Regions from separate parts of the Homo sapiens genome. Here regions 1, 3 and 4 are each linked to region 2. Evidence: promoter capture Hi-C in 16 types of primary human blood cells and fetal thymus (Javierre and others, 2016). All regions are on one chromosome and are shown on one strand. Each heading gives the region's core, a stretch centred on a gene start or on the middle of the fragment in contact. The rest is flanking DNA. Distances are from core to core; before and after follow the strand shown. Region 1 holds the start of DEFB121 (defensin beta 121). Region 2 holds the start of DEFB118 (defensin beta 118). Region 3 has its middle 17 kb from the start of DEFB121. Region 4 has its middle 18 kb from the start of DEFB116.

What was found. The method cuts DNA at HindIII sites, captures the fragments that hold promoters and counts their contacts. A CHiCAGO score of 5 or more calls a contact.
Region 1: a fragment that was not itself captured here is called in contact with the fragment with the promoter of DEFB118 in region 2 in 15 of 17 cell types (naive CD8 T cells, total B cells, naive B cells and 12 more); the score reaches 11.5 in naive CD8 T cells.
Region 3: a fragment that was not itself captured here is called in contact with the fragment with the promoter of DEFB118 in region 2 in 2 of 17 cell types (total CD8 T cells and M1 macrophages); the score reaches 5.3 in total CD8 T cells.
Region 4: a contact is called between a fragment that was not itself captured here and the fragment with the promoter of DEFB118 in region 2, in 5 of 17 cell types (total B cells, naive CD8 T cells, naive B cells and 2 more). The highest score is 6.0, in total B cells.

Annotation. Positions count from the first base shown.
Region 1 is chr20:31,405,012-31,407,977 of GRCh38, reverse strand. It overlaps DEFB121 (defensin beta 121), which reads left to right and starts at 1,763. Exons shown (of 2, transcript NM_001011878.3): 1 at 1,763-1,883; 2 at 2,893-2,966. The coding sequence starts at 1,826. The HindIII fragment of the contact is 7,039 bases long and covers 1-2,966 here.
Region 2 is chr20:31,367,015-31,369,971 of GRCh38, reverse strand. DEFB118 (defensin beta 118) reads right to left here and starts at 1,371. Exons shown (of 2, transcript NM_054112.3): 1 at 1,264-1,371. The coding sequence starts at 1,321. The HindIII fragment of the contact is 1,593 bases long and covers 792-2,384 here.
Region 3 is chr20:31,421,717-31,424,683 of GRCh38, reverse strand. It overlaps the pseudogene DEFB122. Among named protein-coding and RNA genes, the nearest start is that of DEFB121, 17 kb to the right of the region's middle. The HindIII fragment of the contact is 3,840 bases long and covers 1-2,967 here.
Region 4 is chr20:31,325,155-31,328,075 of GRCh38, reverse strand. No RefSeq gene overlaps it. Among named protein-coding and RNA genes, the nearest start is that of DEFB116, 18 kb to the right of the region's middle. The HindIII fragment of the contact is 4,460 bases long and covers 1-2,921 here.

The DNA of each region.
Region 1 (2,966 bases), core at 411-2,910, 38 kb before region 2:
GGTGAAACCTCGTCTCTACCAAAAATACAAAAATTAGCTGGGTGTGGTGGCGCGTGCCTGTAGTCCTAGCTACTCGGGGGGCTAAGGCAGGAGAACTGCTTGAACCCGGGGGGCAGAGGTTGCAATGAGCTGAGATGGTGCCACGGCACTCCAGCCTGGGCAACAGAGCAAGACTCTGTCTTAAAGAAAAAAGAAAAAGAAAAGAAAGATAGACCTTACCATTATTGTCCTAAAAAGCACTTGGCTCTTTCCTGATCTATCTGCTGGCCTTGTGTATAAGTTAGCCATTACTATGTAATGTTCCACTCCAAAACTCAGTGGCTTAAAACATCAATCCTTTATATTTGGCTAGATTGCCCTGCTTGAGGCTGGAATGCCTGGGGCAGCTCTGTTTCTCACTGTAGATCTGTGAGTCGCCTGGAGTAGCTGTGCCCCACGTATCTCTCATCCTCCTTGGACCACTGGGGCATGTTCTTCTCATAGTGATGGCAGAGACACAGAAGGGCAAATGAAAATATTCATCATCTCTTAAAACCTAGGCTTACAACCGGCACACCGTCACTTCTGCCCACATATCACTAGCCAAAGCAAATCACATGCCAAGGCCAAAGTGAAGGGAAAATGAAATAGAGTTCTCCTAGGATGAGACCTTGGCAAATGTGTGAATTCAAGTAGGGATGAAGAAGTAGGGCCAAGATTACAATCTACCATTTCTTTCTTTCTTTTTTGAGACAGAGTCTCGCTCTGTTGCCCAGGCTGGAGTGCAGTGGCACAATCTCGGCTCACTGCAACCTCCGCCTCCCGGATTCAAGCTAGTCTCCTGCTTCAGCCTCCTGAATAGCTGGGACTACAGTGGCCAGCCACCACGCCCGGCTAATTTTTTGTATTTTTTTTTGTAGAGACGGGGTTTCACTGAGTTAGCCAGGATGGTCTCGATCTCCTGAACTTGTGATCCGCCTGCCTCGGCCTCCCAAGTTGCTGGGGCAATCTACCATTTCTTATAAGAAAGACCAAGCTGGGCATGATGGCTCATGCCTTTAATCCTAGCACTTTGGGAGGCCAAAGCAGGAGAATTGCTTGAGACCAGGAATTCGAGGTTCCAGTGAGCTATGATTGTGCCACTGCACTCCAGCCTGGGTGACAGAACAAGACTGTCTCAAAAAAATAAGTAATAATAAAAAAAAGACCACAACAATAATAAATGGCTTTTCTTTTGCTACCTATGAGGGTGCTACTTGTTCCTATTAAATATGTACTGTTAAAAGTAAGGGCTATGGCTTTCCTGCTCATTCCACTCCATGAATACTGACATTCTGGTTTCCAGTGGTGATGGCCATGGAGCTATTAAGGTATTTTCCCCTGCTCTGCCCTTCATTTGGTATTATAATGAATCATCAACATATGGGACATCCTAAGATGTCCTTGTTGCTGGGAAGAACCCAAGGCGCAGAGAAGTATCACTCCTTTTCTGTCTTATCTCTTTTTCTCTCTCTTTTTTTCTCATTAATGAAAAACAAATTAGAGATGAAAATATTTTTCCCCTTCTTGGTTCTCCAGCTGTATTATAAAATTCTTCAGAGGCAAGGCCGTATCTTCTCTTTGTTAACGTCCCTTCCCCCTCTCCCAGCCTCCTCAGGCAGTGTGGTTGATACCTTCCTTGCCTGCCTGTCTGATCTCAAATGACTGTTCCCGTTCTGGTTCACTGATCTTGGCTCTGCCATGCTCCTCAAGGCAATAAATACCAGTCTGGACTGCCCAGAATGGAGTCCTCTGTCTGTTTTACCAGTTGAGAAGCCTCCTATCCCTCCCTGATCATTCATCATTCATGAAGCTCCTTCTTCTGCTTTTGACTGTTACTCTGCTCCTGGCCCAGGTCACCCCAGGTAAACAGGATCTCCAGAAGGGGATGGGAGTCAGGAAACCTGATGCATGTTCAGAGAACTCTGGGGACTCTGACAGGTTGGGCTGGGAGAATGGCCTGGTAGAGCTCATTGAGGCCTTTAGGTAGTCTCTCTAGTTATGGGGAAGTTTGAGTTCTCTGGTACCAAATGGTCTTCCCAGTGCCCAGTACTTGACCATTCCAACCTTATCTCTGGTTAGCTCTGGAAAAGCTGAACGTGATGACCTGAGGATGGGATAGGGTGTAAAGAGAGAGACTTGGGTATGGAGTATAGAGAAAATGGGGACTTTTTCAAAAACATTCATTGAAAGGATTTGAATTTTGATGCATTGTTGCCTCTAGGAAAATGGTTCTCAAATTTCTGATTGTTTGAGGATTCTGATTCCACTTTTTAATGCAACCTCAAATCATCTGGGTTACCTTAGGTTGTAGGTTCCCTGGAATAGCTGTTCCTAATTCCCTTGACTGGTTGGGGCCAGAGAAAAGTCCCAGGATGTTGTGAAGAAGGCAGTATGATATTCTTGGGAGTTTTAAAGGTGCCCTAGAAGACTTACAGATGTTAAATGAGTTTATTTAATATTCCTGTCACCTTTCATTGATATGGTCAGAGGGGGTACCAAAGAACAATGAGAAAAGGTGGCTAATTGCTACTGGGCACCTGGGTACATTATAATATGGGGGAGATAAAACCCTTGGGAGAGGGGTCCTCTTCCCCCTCCCAAGGAGCTGGCCAAGGAGGGGAAGCTATCCAGTAGGTCCTATGCCACTGAGTTGGGGGGACTCTGGGGGTTCTAACAGGGGGCACAAGTGAAGGAAGAAAGCGTAGTGGTCTATAATCTCCCTTAAACTTAGGGGATCCTGTGTAAGAGCTTCTTCCCCACAGACCTCCTCATTTCCCTCCTACTCCTCTACTGGGCTTTAGCCTCTTCCTTTCACACCTTTCTGCTTTCTTTCAAAACTGACTCTATTCTCTTCTTCCCTTTTGTTTTCAGTCATGAAATGTTGGGGCAAGTCAGGCAGGTGCAGAACAACATGTAAAGAAAGTGAAGTATACTATATATTATGC
Region 2 (2,957 bases), core at 122-2,621:
TGCCCACCCCCACCAGACTTACATTTAACTTGGTTATTTGCCCTCTAGGAATCTATCCTATTTAAGCCCATATCCATATATGTAAATATATTAATGTTTGTACAAGCATATTCATTGATGTCTTGTTCGAAAATTAAGAAATGTCTCAAATGGCTATATATGACTTTATATGGCTTATCCTACAGCAGAACTATACAACTTTACAAACAATAAGGCAGATCTTTAGATGGTGACATGGAAAGATGGCCACAAAATAATAAGTGAAAGAAGAGTGCTGCATAGGGCCGGGTGCGGTGGCTCATGCCTGTAATCCCAGCACTTTGGGAGACCGAGGCGGATGGATCACCCGAGGTCAAGAGTTTGAGACCAGCCTTGCCAACATGGTGAAACCCCATCTCTACTAAAAATACAAAAATTAGTCGGACATGATGGTGCATGCCTGTAATCCCAGCTGCTTGGGAGGCTGAGGCAGGAGAATTGCTTGAACCCAGGAGGCAGAGGTTGCAGTGAGCTGAGATTGCGCCACTGCACTCCAGCCTGGGTGACAGATTGAGATTCCATCTTCAAAAAAAAAAAAAAAAAAAAACACAAGAGTGCTGCATAGCCATGCAGGGAGTGTGCTTACTTCGTTATAAAACAGAAATATTTAGATTCATTTTTATGTAAGTTCGATCATACATTGAAATGCACCTTGAAAAACATAAAGGAGAAACAGGCTCTCTTCACCAGTGATTTCAAAGTTCTGGTCATGCCTTTAGATATACTTAAGAAAGCAGTGATTATGAAAAGCTTAGATTTTCACTGTAGAAGGAAGAAGAAAAGCCAGTTCTGTCTTCCGTGTAACAGCTCTACCAGTGTTTTCTGACTTGTTCACCAAATTCTAGAATATTAGAAAACAAAAAGAACCTCATTATAGCTATAGCAGGACTTTTAGGGCCAAGAAAACATAGCAAAGTGGGCTGCAGGAATCATTTTCAAAAGCTGGCACAATCTGGAAAGAGAACAGATGTGAGCCGAGCTTTCCCCTAGTTTCTTAGGCGGCAACTTGGAATATAGAACCAAGGACAACTCTGGATGGTGGGACTGCCCCTGTCTATTGAGGATAACTTGCTCTACTCCCAGGTTTTACCCCAGCCAGGAGCATAGTCCCAGTGTGGGAACTGTGGAGCTGCCCATGTTGGGGAGTACCGTGACACATTGGAATTTTCATGAGCCAGAACCCACTATACCTCTATTTTTGTATCTTCCCTGACCTCTGATTACCTGGGATCACTTGGGGTAGGAGCACAAGCATAGGAAGAGCCAGCAGCAGGAGTTTCATGGTCCTTGGGAAGCAGGAGGTGGTAGATCCAGGAGTTCAGAATACTGTGTGCAGTGTGAGTCTGAACAAGAGTTTTATTGGCCTCTCTGCAGTGGGGGCAGAGGGATGGGCACAGAACCAGCCGGATATCTAAGAGCTTATCCATGCATAACATCAGTCTAGTGTGTGGCACATAAGCTGAGCATTTGATCCAGGCACTGGGAGGGCATGCAGAGGGTTACAAGTCACAGGTTTTGAGGAGGTGTTTGGAGCAATGGAGAGGGAAGATTCACACTGGGACATCTTCCCTAGCTTTCCCCGATCTCTCATTAGGGCTCAGCCCTTCTTCACAGCCCCTCTCACTCTAGCATAAACCTACTTTTGAATGGTCTACTTATCTGTGTGTCTCCCCGCACCAGCCTGTGAAATTCCTGAGAGTAGGGAACGTGTCTTTCATTTTTGAGCCCCCAAGGCACGAAGCATGCTCTCAGTGAAGGTTTGTGGAAATAAACGATAATGAACACATGTCAATCTATAAGCCAAATCCCTCTCTTACATATGTGCCCAACAGGGAAAATGACTTGCCCAAGAAGTCACTTGCTGCAGAAGTTTGAGGGAGATCATTTATAAGACTCAAAGGGGGATGCTACCCAATGTCATTAAAAAAAAAATTCCCTAGCTGGGTGTGGTGGTGGGTGCCTGTAATCCAAGCTACTCAGGAGGCTGAGTCAGGAGAATCGCTTAAACCCAGGAGGTGGAAGTTGCAGTGAGCTGAGATCGCACCACTGCACTCCAGCCTGGGCAACAGAGTGAGACTCTGTCTCAAAAAAAAAAAAAAAAATCCCTGCTGAAGACAGATCTACAATAATTTGGGATGTTACCTTTGACAACGGCACCATGAGGGTCATCAGAGGTCTGGGAGCTGTCCATGAAGACCCCAACATTTAGACTTGCCTTTGGGATGTGGAACCTCGATGTCACCCCCAGAGTCAGCCTAGGTCCTGCATTGCTTTAGTTGCATTTTCATCGTGTTTCAACTTTTGCTCCCTCTTGTTTACTCGGCTCTAAAAGTCTCTGTAAAGCTTTTACAGAGGAGGTTGCTGATTTTTCTCTTCTGGAATTGATAACTTTCACTGTGAGAATAATTGATGGGAATTAGCAGGGTTGCCATGTGATTGAGGAGACTTCTCTTCTGGATGGAACCATGTGGAAAGCGTAGCATGGTGGTGGGCTATTTTCAAATTAATTTTGTTTTATGTTTTTATTTTTTTGAGACAGGATCTCGCTCTGTAGCCCAGGCTAGGGTGCAGTGGTGCGATCACAGCTCATTGCAGCCTCAAGCTCCTGAGCTCAAGCAATCCTCCCACCTCAGCCTCCTGAGTAGCTGGGACTGCCCAGGTATTCACCACCATGCCCGAATATTTAAAAAAATTTTTTTGGGAGAGACAGGTCTTACTATGTTGCCCAGGCTAGTCTCAAACTCCTGGGTTCAAGTGGTCCTCCCTCCTTGGCCTCCCAAAGTGCTGGAATTACAGGCATGGGCCACTGCACCTGGCCTCCAAATTAATTTTAGATTAGTATGTTCTAACAGGCAGAACTCTCTTACTATGGAATTGTTTCCCAGAGAGGGAGGGGGTACTCTATAACTCATTTTTCA
Region 3 (2,967 bases), core at 428-2,927, 54 kb before region 2:
CCATGCCTTTTCACACCCAAAGAATCATAGTATATGAGGATTGAGTTAATCCCTACAGCCCATCTGCTCCAATCTGCTCATTGGTGAGATTAAAGCCCAGAGAAGGGAAGTGACTCTCCCAAGGTCACACAGCCACTAACTGGCACAGCCAGGACAACAAGCTGAATATTTCAGCTTGTCTTTTCTCACCCTCCATGCCAAAATGCTTCCTGAAACTGAGGATTTTAGGTACTCGGGCTTTCTTTCTTAGGAAATAATCCAATAGACACATTCTCCCTAAAATATGAATGATCGTCCTTTCTTCTTTACTCCTCTGCTCTCAAACTGGGAATTGCATTTGAAAAAAGGAGCTTGCTTCATTTACATTAGAACCATGATAATGGTGGATTTCTAAACCAGAGAATATAGGGCTTTGCAGGGCATAGTAAAGATTGTGGATTTTTTTTTTCTAGTTGTGGAGTCTTGGAGGATTTTTAAGCTGTATTATAACAAGGGCTGACATACATTTTTAAAAGTATCCTTCTGGGTGTTGTATGATTTATTTTTGCTGGTCCCTAAAAGATGATGGTGGACAAAGGGAGGCGTGCGAGCTCAGGGGTGTGGGGTCCACACTCTGGGTGCAGGGGTGTTGGGATGGTGACTGAGCATGAAAAAAAAAGGCAGGTTGTCCCAGAGCAAACTGTACCCATGGGCAGATAGTGGCACGTGTGAGTGACACACTTCCCAGCTGATTAGAGGCAGCAGAGAGTCCTGAGCTCGCCTCCATTTCCTGCCACTTCACCAGAGCCGAGACTACTCTGTGGGCTACTTGAAGTCATGAAGACTTTTTTGGTAACTTTGGCTGTGCTGCTGCTCTTCCTCCAAGTCATTCCAGATAACCTAGACCTCTCTAGGGGAGGGACTGGGAGTAGACAGTGAGTCTTGGTCAGGGCACACCAGGGCCTGGGAGGATGGGCTGACAGGGAGCAGTGTGAAATATTAATTGTCTGGAGGAAGAGGAAAGAGTCCCCAGATCCTGGTTTAGAACCTGCCTCACCATTTGCAAGTTCTGTGATGCCCCCAGCAAACTACTTGGTGCCTGTGAGTTTCAGTTTATTCTTTTCTCAATTTAAAATAATAAATTAGGTTGAAGGATCAACATTGAGGACACTGACATTTTGATGTACAACAAATATAGCTTTTTAAATTTTCTGTAATTCATTTGAATGTTTCCAGGAACTCCCATCCTGCTGGTAGGAAAAGTGGGAGTTAGAAAGGGCACAGGGATGTACACAACTTCAGAAGACAATTGTATTCATCTTTTTTGATTTAAAAGAACCTCTCAGATTAGCTCATTTTGCTTTAAAATGTTCAGTCTTTCAGCATTTCTACTTTCACCTCACCCCCTTCTTCTTCTCAGGATGGCAGCTGGATTTAGGGGATAGTGGACATGTCATTGCTTAAATAACTCGTTCAATCAGTAAATATTGTTGAGTGGATTCCGTGTGCCAGGCACAGGTGCTGGAGATAGAGCAATGAATCAACCAACTAACCAACCAACCAAACAAAATCTCCATCCTCTTGGAGCTTATGATTCTATTAGGGGAGGAAATGAGCAGGGTAAGCAGGGGATAGCAAGTATCAGGGTACGTGAATTTGCAACTTAAAAAGGGGTGTCAAGGGAATGCCTCACTGAGAAGGTGACATTCAAATGAAGACTTGAAGGAAGTGAGGGGTGAGCCGTACAGATATGTTGGGAAGAACCTTCATTTATTAGCTGAACTCCTTATCAAAGAGGCATTTTCCCTCATCTGTTTGGTTACCTTGGGGTTTAGAGAGTTCAGAGAGGAAGACAGGATAAATGCTTGAGTTTATCTTTGCTTAATTGGTTTGAGAGATAATGAATTAGTTTTCTATCAGCCTCTGAGGTTAAGCCATTAGTTTTTCTTAAATATTATTTATTTTGAACTGATGATTCTAAGCAATGAGTTCAATCTATTGCAATTATTTTCGCTATTGAAGTATACATTGTCTTATTCTTGGCCAATAGGAGTCTCTTTAATTTGGCTCGTATGTCTTTTAGATATATCCCTATTAATCTTTGGTGCTTTCTTAGTATCTGGTACGACAGAATGTTTCAAGATCATCTTGTAATTTACTGCCCAAGAACTGGAATCCACCATATCTCCAAGAAGTCCTGTTTTTTAAAAAAAGTTTACTGGGAGATAGTATTTTAAGATTATAGCATGGGTACTAGGAATACTAATTTCTACTAGTTAGTTATTGTTTCTAGACTTTCTCAGTGACCAGAGCTGGAAAAATTTCAATCTATCTATCCATCCATCAATCATCTATTTATTTTATCTATTTAAATATAAAATACTTGTGAGTTCATATTGGCATTTTCAATTCAAATTCAGAACTCAAATTCAGAATCAACTTTTATATTACATCAGTATTTTCTTTTCTATACTGAGAATTCTGGTTGTCAAGGTCACAGGGGACGATAGAATATCCCATGACTTACTCATTTGATTGATCTCTCATTACATATACAATAGTCTTAGTAAAATAATATCAATGCTACCATAATGTCATGATTACTCAAACTAGTTAAGATGTCTGCATATGTTCTCACCATTATTCTCTCATTTTTATGTTGTACTCTATTTATATTGTCAGAACATATAGCCATTATGTACTTTACTACCTCTTTTAAAATCCTCATTTTGGTTCTACAAGTATCTTTATATTTAATATTTAGTTCTGTGTCAATGCTCCTCTCATTTGCTTGTCTACAGCTCTTTTTCTAGTAGATTCTTTAGAAAGGGCTCATGGGTTTCACTGGATATTTCCTGAGTTTCAATATGGTGATAGACAATACCACCACCCTAGTTACCTAGAGGGAATGCCTCCTTCTTCTACAGCCCCCTTCTTCTGTCTGGTCCTCTGTTAGTCTTCTCAGTCCAGGACTCATTTCCCCTCATA
Region 4 (2,921 bases), core at 215-2,714, 42 kb after region 2:
TCTTTGTTCCTATGGTGCTTAGCACAAGGCTGAATGCATAAGTGCTCCATAGCTCTTACACAACAGGAGGGAAGGACAATTTATTATTTTAAAGGGTTTCTTAAAAAACGCTTTTCATTATTATTTGTGTCTTACACAAAAGGACTAATGGTTTTTTTGTGAGGGATGATAACAAATTTTTTTTTTTTAGCTTTGTTCAGGTATAATTGACAAATAAAAATTTATATGTTTACATTGTACAATTGTTTTGATATATGTATACATTGTGAATTGATCACCACAATCAAGCTAATTAAAATATCCATTACCTCACATAGTTGCTATTTTTTTCCTTTTTTTTTGTGGTGAGAACACTTACCATGTACTAGCAAATATCACGTATATATTACTAACTGTAATCGCTATACTGCATATTATCTTCAGAACTTACTTTGCATAACTGAAACTTGGTACCCTGTGACAAATATCTCCCCATTTTCCCCTTCCCCCACCGTGGCAACCACCATTGTACGCTCTGCCTCTATGAGGGTGACAACACTATAGGTTGAAGAAAATACCCATTACCCAAGGGTATGTTTTTGGCATCCTTGTTGAAGACTAGGTGACTGAATGTGTAGAATTGTTTCTAGAATCTCTATTCTGTTCTGTTAGTCTATCTGTCTGTTTTTATGTGAGTACCATGCTGTTTCATTTACTGTAGATTTGTAATATATTTTGAAAACAGAAAGTGTGATGGATTTGTTCTTTTTGGGGTCTTTTGTAATTCCACATGAATTTTAGTGTTTTTGTTTGTTTCTGTGAAAAATGGCATTGGAATTTTGATAAGGATTGCATTGAATCTCTAGATCACTTTGGGTAGTATGAACATTTTAACAATATTAATTCTTCCCGTCCATGAACATGAGGTCTTTTCATTTACCTGTACCTTCTTTAATTTCCTTCAGCAACGTTTTATAATTTTCACTGTACGAGCCTTTCTCCTCTTTGATTAGGCTTATTCTTAAGTATTTTATGCTTTTTGTTGCCATTGTAAATATAACTGTTGTCTTAATTTCCTTTTCAGATTGTTTGTGCATAGAAATGCCACTGATTTTTGTATGTTGATTTTTATCCTGCGATTTTACTGAATTAGTTTCTTAGTTCTAACAGGGTTTTTTTGTTGAGTCTTTATGGTTTACTATATATATGATCATGTCATCTGGAAACAGAGATAATTTTACTTCTTCCTTTTAAATTTGGATGCCTTTTATTTCTTTGTCTTGTCTAATTGCTCTGACTAGGACTTCTAATACTGTATTGGGTAGAAACGGCAAGAGTGGGCCTCCTAGCCTTGTACCAGATCTTAGAGAAAAAACTTCCAGTTTATCCTCATTGATTATGTTAGTTTTTCAATTCATTGATTATGAATAATATAGGACTCTCTCAAGTGTGCTGGAGTTCTGGTCTTTTTTTAGGATTCTGGTCTTGTGTAGGGTGACCAGCAACTGAAGCCTGGTTTCAGGCAGCTTGATGAAGTTATCCTCATGTTCATTTCATGTTAGCATCTCTTTGTGGCTGTCTGCCAAGGGCTTTTTCAGTGTTGAGAGCCTTCAGTGTCGAGGTCTTTTCATTGTTGAGATTCAGTATGGGCTTTATTGTGTTAAGTTCCTCCTATACCTATTTTTTTTTTTTTTTTTTTGAGACGGAGTTTCGCTCTGTCGCCCCGGCTGGAGTGCAGTGGTGCAATCTCGACTCACTGCAAGCTCCACCTCCCGGGTTCACGCCATTCTCCTGCCTCAGCCTCCTGTGTAGCTGGGACTACAGGTGCGTGCCACCATGCCTGGCTAATTTTTGTATTTTTAGTAGAGACGGGGTTTCACCGTGTTAGCCAGGATGGTCTCGATCTCCTGACCTCGTGATCCGCCCGTCTCGGCCTCCCAAAGTGCTGGGATTACAGGCGTGAGCCACCGCGCCCGGCCACCTATTTTTTTTAAGAGATGGTTGATATGATTTCAATCTTCTTAAATTTCTGAAGACTTGTTTTGTGACCTAGCATGTGATTTATTCTGGAGAATGTTTCAGGTGTACTTGAGAAGAATGTGTAGTCCTCTGCTATTGAATAGAAAGTTCTATGTCTGTTAGGTCCGTTTGGTCTATAATATTGTTCAAGTCAGCTGTTTATTGATTTTTTCTGTCTGTATATTCCATCCATTTTTGAAAGTGGGGTATTGAAGTCTCCTACTATTATTGTATTGTTGCCAGTTTCTCCCTTCAGATCTGTCTACATTTGGTTTATATAATTATGTGCTCTGGTGTTGGGTAGGTTTATATTTATAAATGTTATATCATTCTATTGAATTAACCCTTTTATCATTATAAATGACTCTCTTTGTCCCTAGAGACCCTTTTATCATTATAATGACTTTCTTTGTCCCTAGAGATAGTTTTGACTTTAAGTCTATTTTGTCTGATATAAGTATAGCCATCCTTGCACCCTTGCTTTCTTTTGGTTACCTTTTACATGGAGTATTTTTTTTTTCCATCCCTTCATTTTCAGTCTATGTGTGCCCACAAATCTAAAGTGAGTCTCTTGTAGACAGCATATCATTGACTCTTTTTTTTTTTTAACCCATTCATATACTCTCCCTTTTTGATTGGGAAGTTTAATTCATTTACTTTAAAGTAATTATTAATAGGCGAGGGCTTTAGCTATTTTGTTACTCATTTTCTGAAAGGACAAATGATTTTCTTTTACCAGGAGAGAAAGCCCACTTTTGTTATGGATGCTGGCCAGTATCTCACTTTCCCATTCCAATGTCTAGATGGAATATATATTAAATGTTGTATCTCTGTTATGTTGACTTCAGATAAATTGCCTCTCTCTATATTTTGCTGACCAATACCCCACCATGCTTCAGGAGCTAATATAGTCAGAGTTCAGA